2 separate regions of the Homo sapiens genome follow, and region 2 is linked to region 1. The links are contacts of gene promoters, found by promoter capture Hi-C in human tissues and cell types (Jung and others, 2019). All regions are on one chromosome and are shown on one strand. Each heading gives the region's core, a stretch centred on a gene start or on the middle of the fragment in contact. The rest is flanking DNA. Distances are from core to core; before and after follow the strand shown.

What was found. The method cuts DNA at HindIII sites, captures the fragments that hold promoters and counts their contacts. A contact is called where the count stands out against the background at its distance.
Region 2: a contact is called between a fragment that was not itself captured here and the fragment with the promoter of ATXN7L2 in region 1, in 1 of the 25 tissues and cell types used here (adrenal gland).

What each region holds. Positions count from the first base shown.
Region 1 is chr1:109,482,490-109,485,637 of GRCh38, reverse strand. It overlaps ATXN7L2 (ataxin 7 like 2), which reads right to left and starts at 1,733. Exons shown (of 11, transcript NM_001350175.2): 1 at 1,558-1,733. The coding sequence starts at 1,684. RefSeq lists enhancers at 1,024-1,643, 1,644-2,261 and a silencer at 1,661-1,830. The HindIII fragment of the contact is 8,644 bases long and covers 1-3,148 here.
Region 2 is chr1:109,742,851-109,745,998 of GRCh38, reverse strand. No RefSeq gene overlaps it. Among named protein-coding and RNA genes, the nearest start is that of GSTM3, 3.4 kb to the right of the region's middle. The HindIII fragment of the contact is 3,640 bases long and covers 1-3,148 here.

The DNA.
Region 1 (3,148 bases), core at 484-2,983:
TTCTATAAGTCCCTGAGTCTCTTCTTGAGATTTCTCGATGGGTCCTTTCTGCTACTATGTGGCATCCCAAATAGATACTCTCCCAGGTCCCCACCCCCATGAACTCAATTTTGCTCCACCTGGGTTACCATAGCATTGTCAAAGTTACACCCAGCTTCTCAGGTCCTGCACTGATAGGATGGTCACAGAGCAGAGAAACTGCTGTCTTTGGTCCTTGAGCATCTTCAAAGTCTCCTTGGTCAGCTATGCAAGTCCCTCCCCTTCTTAGAGGGCCTTTGGGCAGGGGTTGCCCTTGTACCTCAGTTTCTGGGTTAATGACAAAAACATCTTAGCTGTGCAAAGCAGCTTTTTCCCCATCCCCCTACCTCTCTCCTCCCCCCTCCCTCCTCTACGCCCCCTCCCTGTCCCTTGGGAAAAAAAAAATCAATTCTGAGTCACCAAACCCGTCTGACTCCATTTCCGGTTCTCAATGCACCCAGACCCTGACAATGGCCCCATCTTTGCCCACCCAGCATGGGGCAGCCCCAGGGTGGCCTGGGCTCCCACTTAGGTCTGCTCTCTGATGCCCATTAACAGATATGCTCCTTTCTAGGATGAGAAGATTGTTGACAATCTTATATAATATCCAGATTATGAGGGGTCGTGGGTTAGGCACGCAAGAGACAAGGGGCAGCTCCCACTCTAAGTCCGTTAAATGCAAGTGCGGGGAATGATGGATAGAACGAAACTGGGAGTCGGATGTCTCAGAGGAGAACAAGTGTCATTAGAGACCCCTCCGTGCAGTCTCCTCCTCCACCTCTTCTCACTTGCAAACTTCTTCAGGGGCGTGATGCCTGCTGTCACCCCGAAAGGCCACGAGGCCAGGTGCTCCCTGGGGCCCAGAAGACAAAGATCAGAAGAAGGGGCTGTAGGCCCGCTCACTAAGGCACTCAGGGGCCTAGAGAAGGTGAGAGTAAGAGCAGAGAGCCAAGAGGCAGGGCAAGAGGCCTGGGAAAGGACAGTGGGTTGGAGGCATGGATGGATGGACCGAAGGATGGAGGGAGGGAGGATAGATGGATGGACGGACGAACTAACGCGGAGAGGGCGGGGGTCTAAAAGCACTGCAGCTGCAGGCAAATGCCGAAAAGGAGCAGGAGGTGTGGGGCAAAAGGCGAAGGAACAAGGGGGGTGAGGAAGGGGGCACAGAAGTGGGGTGCGTGGGAAACACGTGGAGGACTGTTGCGGACAGGGAAAGCTGGAGGCAGGTGCAGGAGGGTCGCGAGCTGAGGGGCAGCAGGCAAGGAGAAAGATAAAGGCAAGCCTATATGGGGGCAGGTATTAGCGACTGGCAGAGGCAGAGGTTGGCAGGGTGGGCTGCGAGCGGTGAGCAGGCGCTAGGACCCGGAGGCGCGAAGGTGACGGAGCGGGCGGGCACTAGGACCCGGCGGGTCCTTTGTTTGGGGGGCCGGGGAGCCGGACGGCGGCTCCAGTCGGCGGCTCCCCTCAGCTGGCGGGGGCCCGGAAGGGGGGAGGGGAGATAGTGATGGGGTCCCCGGACTTTAGGGTGGCTTTACTCACCGTCAGCCGCGGGCAGGTCGGCCCGCTCCACCCACGAGCTCCAGCTCTGTCCCGCGAAGTCATCGAGACTCGGCACCCGCCGCTCCAGAGCGGCCATTGCTGCCGCCGCGCGTTCACGCACCGCCATCACCGCCGCGGACGCGCGCCCGCCCTGGCGCCGCCGCCGCGCGGCCCCCTCCCCCTCGCCCCGTCGCGGGCACGCCTCCCCTCCTCCCCACCTGCCTTTCCAGCGCAGTCTTTGCGCAAGCGCAACACAGGTTGCCTGTTCCCCGCGCCCCCCCCCCCCCCACCCACTCACAGCCTTCTGGGAAGTGTAGTCTTGGAGCGGATGCTATTGCCTACCGAGCTTGCAGCAAGAGTCCCTCCGAAATGCACAATTGCAGGGGGAAAAGAGAAGACCAAAGCTCCAGGACCTCCTCTTCTAACCCTTATGCACACATTATTTGTGCTACCAGTCCACTCTCCCAAGCTCACTGCATCTCTCCCCAGCCCCAAACCTCTCTGCCCAGACGCCCCTCTAAGCCGTGCGTCCGCCAGCTGGCTGGCGCCCCTTCCCGGGCTGGCGGCCACGAAGCGACTCCGCTCCCCTGTAGATCGAATAGGGTAGGTGCAGGGAGGTGGGCGCTGTGAATCAGAAGGGCAAGGGGAGGGAGTCTGTAGGAGGTGCTGAAGGACACAGGGGTGGTGTGGGGGAGGGCCTCGGCTCCCGTGTCGTGCCTCCTCTGTGGGAAACCCACGCTGCCCTGATGCAGAGCAGAGGGTTGGCGTGGCGTTGTCTGGATTTGAGAGGACCTGGCCAAGCTGACCAAGATCACCTGTCATGATGACAGGATGACAGAAGGCTGTCTCCGAGCCAGAGCCAGCCCCAGAACTGGGGTGGCCCCGAGGCAGCTGGTGTTTGCAGCATCTCTGCTGATCTGTCTCTCTTCTCTTGAGAACTGCGATCGATACCCTGTACAGCCTCTTCCCAAACCCTGGCTGGACCCTGACTCCATCCATCACTTTGCCTTCTTTTTCTAATGAATACTTTCTCTGCTGGAAGGGCTGCTTCTGAAGCCTCGGCATAGGGAGATTTCTCATCAGAGCTGTCATCTTCCTTGCTAAGGTCTGGAAAGTACCTTAATCATCCATTTCTTTCATCTTCTCAGCTGATAACATTTCTTCCCACCCTCACACAATCAGACAAAAGTCTGCCTACTCCATTTCCCGCCCCCCCCCCGCCGCCATCGCATTAAAAAAGTAATACTAATCCTTTTTCCTCCTCAACCTCTCACACCTCACCCCCGACGCTTGACCCTTTAGCTAAGGGGAAAACAAGTTGGGGAGCAAGACCTCAGATTTTCTTCTCCTTTTCATCCAGGGAAGGTGTAAGTACTTCAAGAATAATCTCTGAGGGCAGGGAATCTCAACCTGAGACCCACAGATGATCCCTAGGGCATCCAGGAATCAGGTAAAAATTAAATGTTCAATTGTACCCAAGGTATTTTTCTAGGGGATGTAAATGTAGTGTGTGACTCTCTGAAGAGGGATAGAGGTGCAAGTTTGTTCAACAAGAAGCTGATAGTTAAGAAAGTGAAGCATATGGCCCTCA
Region 2 (3,148 bases), core at 475-2,974, 260 kb before region 1:
AAACCAACGAGAACAAAGACACGACATACCAGAATCTCTGGGACACATTCAAAGCAGTGTGTAGAGGGAAATTTATAGCACTAAATGCCCACAAGAGAAAGCAGGAAAGATCCAAAATTGACACCCTAACATCACAATTAAAAGAACTAGAAAAGCAAGAGCAAACACATTCAAAAGCTAGCAGAAGGCAAGAAATAACTAAAATCAGAGCAGAACTGAAGGAAATAGAGACACAAAAAACCCTTCAAAAAATTAATGAATCCAGGAGCTGGTTTTTTTTAAAAGATCAACAAAATTGATAGACCGCTAGCAAGACTAATAAAGAAGAAAAGAGAGAAGAATCAAATAGACGCAATAAAAAATGATAAAGGGGATATCACCACTGATCCCACAGAAATACAAACTACCATCAGAGAATACTACAAACACCTCTACGCAAATAAACTAGAAAATCTAGAAGAAATGGATAAATTCCTCGACACATACACCCTCCCAAGACTAAACCAGGAAGAAGTTGAATCTCTGAATAGACCAATGACAGGCTCTGAAATTGTGGCAACGATCAATAGCTTACCAGTCAAAAAAAGTCCAGGACCAGATGCATTCACAGCCGAATTCTACCAGAGGTACAAGGAGGAGCTGGCACCATTCCTTCTGAAACTATTCCAATCAATAGAAAAAGAGGGAATCCTCCCTAACTCATTTTATGAGGCCAGCATCATCCTGATACCAAAGCCGGGCAGAGACACAACCAAAAAAGAGAATTTTAGACCAATATCCTTGATGAACATTGATGCAAAAATCCTCAATAAAATACTGGCAAACAGAATCCAGCAGCACATCAAAAAGCTTATCCACCATGATCAAGTGGGCTTCATCCCTGGGATGCAAGGTTGGTTCAACATTCGCAAATCAATAAATGTAACCCAGCATATAAACAGAACCAAAGACAAAAACCAAATGATTATCTCAATAGATGCAGAAACAGCCTCTAACAAAATTCAACAACACTTCATGCTAAAAACTCTCAATAAATTAGGTATTCATGGGACGTATCTCAAAATAATAAGAGCTATCTATGACAAACCCACAGCCAATATCATACTGAATGGGCAAAAACTGGAAGCATTCCCTTTGAAAACTGGCACAAGACAGGGATGCCCTCTCTCACCGCTCCTATTCAACATAGTGTTGGAAGTTCTGGCCAGGGCAATTAGGCAGGAGAAGGAAATGAAGGGTATTCAATTAGGAAAAGAGGAAGTCAAATTGTCCCTGTTTGCAGATGACATGATTGTATATCTAGAAAACCCCATTGTCTCAGCCCAAAATCTCCTTAAGCTGATAAGCAACTTCAGCAAAGTCTCAGGATACAACATCAATGTACAAAAATCACAAGCATTCTTATACACCAATAACAGACAAACAGAGAGCCAAATCATGAGTGAACTCCCATTCACAATTGCTTCAAAGAGAATAAAATACCTAGGAATCCAACTTACAAGGGATGTGAAGGACCTCTTCAAGGAGAACTACAAACCACTGCTCAAGGAAATAAAAGAGGATACAAACAAATGGAAGAACATTCCATGCTCATGGGTAGGAAGAATCAATATCATGAAAATGGCCATACTGCCCAAGGTAATTTACAGATTCAATGCCATCCCCATCAAGCTACCAATGACTTTCTTCACAGAATTGGAAAAAACTACTTTAAAGTTCATATGGAACCAAAAAAGAGCCCGCATTGCCAAGTCAATCCTAAGCCAAAAGAACAACGCCAGAGGCATCATGCTACCTGACTTCAAACTATACTACAAGGCTACAGTAACCAAAGCAGCATGGTACTGGTACCAAAACAGAGATATAGATCAATGGAACAGAACAGAGCCCTCAGAAATAATGCCACATATGTACAACCATCTGATCTTTGACAAACCTGACAAAAACAAGCAATGGGGAAAGGATTCCCTATTTAATAAATGGTACTGGGAAAACTGGCTAGCCATATGTAGAAAGCTGAAACTGGATCCCTTCCTTACACCTTATACAAAAATTAATTCAAGATGGATTAAAGACTTACATGTTAGACCTAAAACCATAAAAACCCTAGAAGAAAACCTAGGCAATACCATTCTGGACATAGGCATGGGCAAAGACTTCATGTCTAAAACACCAAAAGCAATGGCAACAAAAGCCAAAATTGACAAATGGGATCTAATTAAACTAAAGAGCTTCTCCACAGCAAAAGAAACTACCATCAGAGTGAACACGCAACCTACAAAATGGGAGAAAATTTTCACAACCTACTCATCTGACAAAGGGCTAATATCCAGAATCTACAATGAACTCAAACAAATTTACAAGAAAAAAACAAACAACCCCATCAAAAAGTGGGCAAAGGATATGAACAGACACTTCTCAAAAGAAGACATTTATGCAGCCAAAAAACACATGAAAAAATGCTCACCATCACTGGCCATCAGAGAAATGCAAATCAAAACCACAATGAGTTACCATCTCACACCAGTTAGAATGGCAATCATTAAAAAGTCAGGAAACGAGGTGCTGGAGAGGATGTGGAGAAATAGGAACACTTTTACACTTTTGGTGGGACTGTAAACTAGTTCAACATTGTGGAAGTCAGTGTGGCGATTCCTCAGGGATCTAGAACTAGAAATACCATTTGACCCAGCCATCCCATTACTGGGTATATACCCAAAGGATTATAAATCATGCTGCTATAAAGACACATGCACACGTATGTTTATTGCGGCACTATTCACAATAGCAAAGACTTGGAACCAACCCAAATGTCCAACAACGATAGACTGGATTAAGAAAACATGGCACATATACACCATGGAATACTATCCAGCCATAAAAAATGATGAGTTCATGTCCTTTGTAGGGACATGGATGAAACTGGAAACCATCATTCTCAGCAAACTATCGCAAGGACAAAAAACCAAACACCGCATGTTCTCACTCATAGGTGGGAACTGAACAATGAGAACACATGGACACAGGAAGGGGAACATCACACTCCAGGGACTGTTGTGGGGTGGGGGGAGGGGGGAGGGATAGCATTAGGAGATATACCTAGTGTTAAATGAGGAGTTAATGGGTGCAGCACACCAACATGGCACAT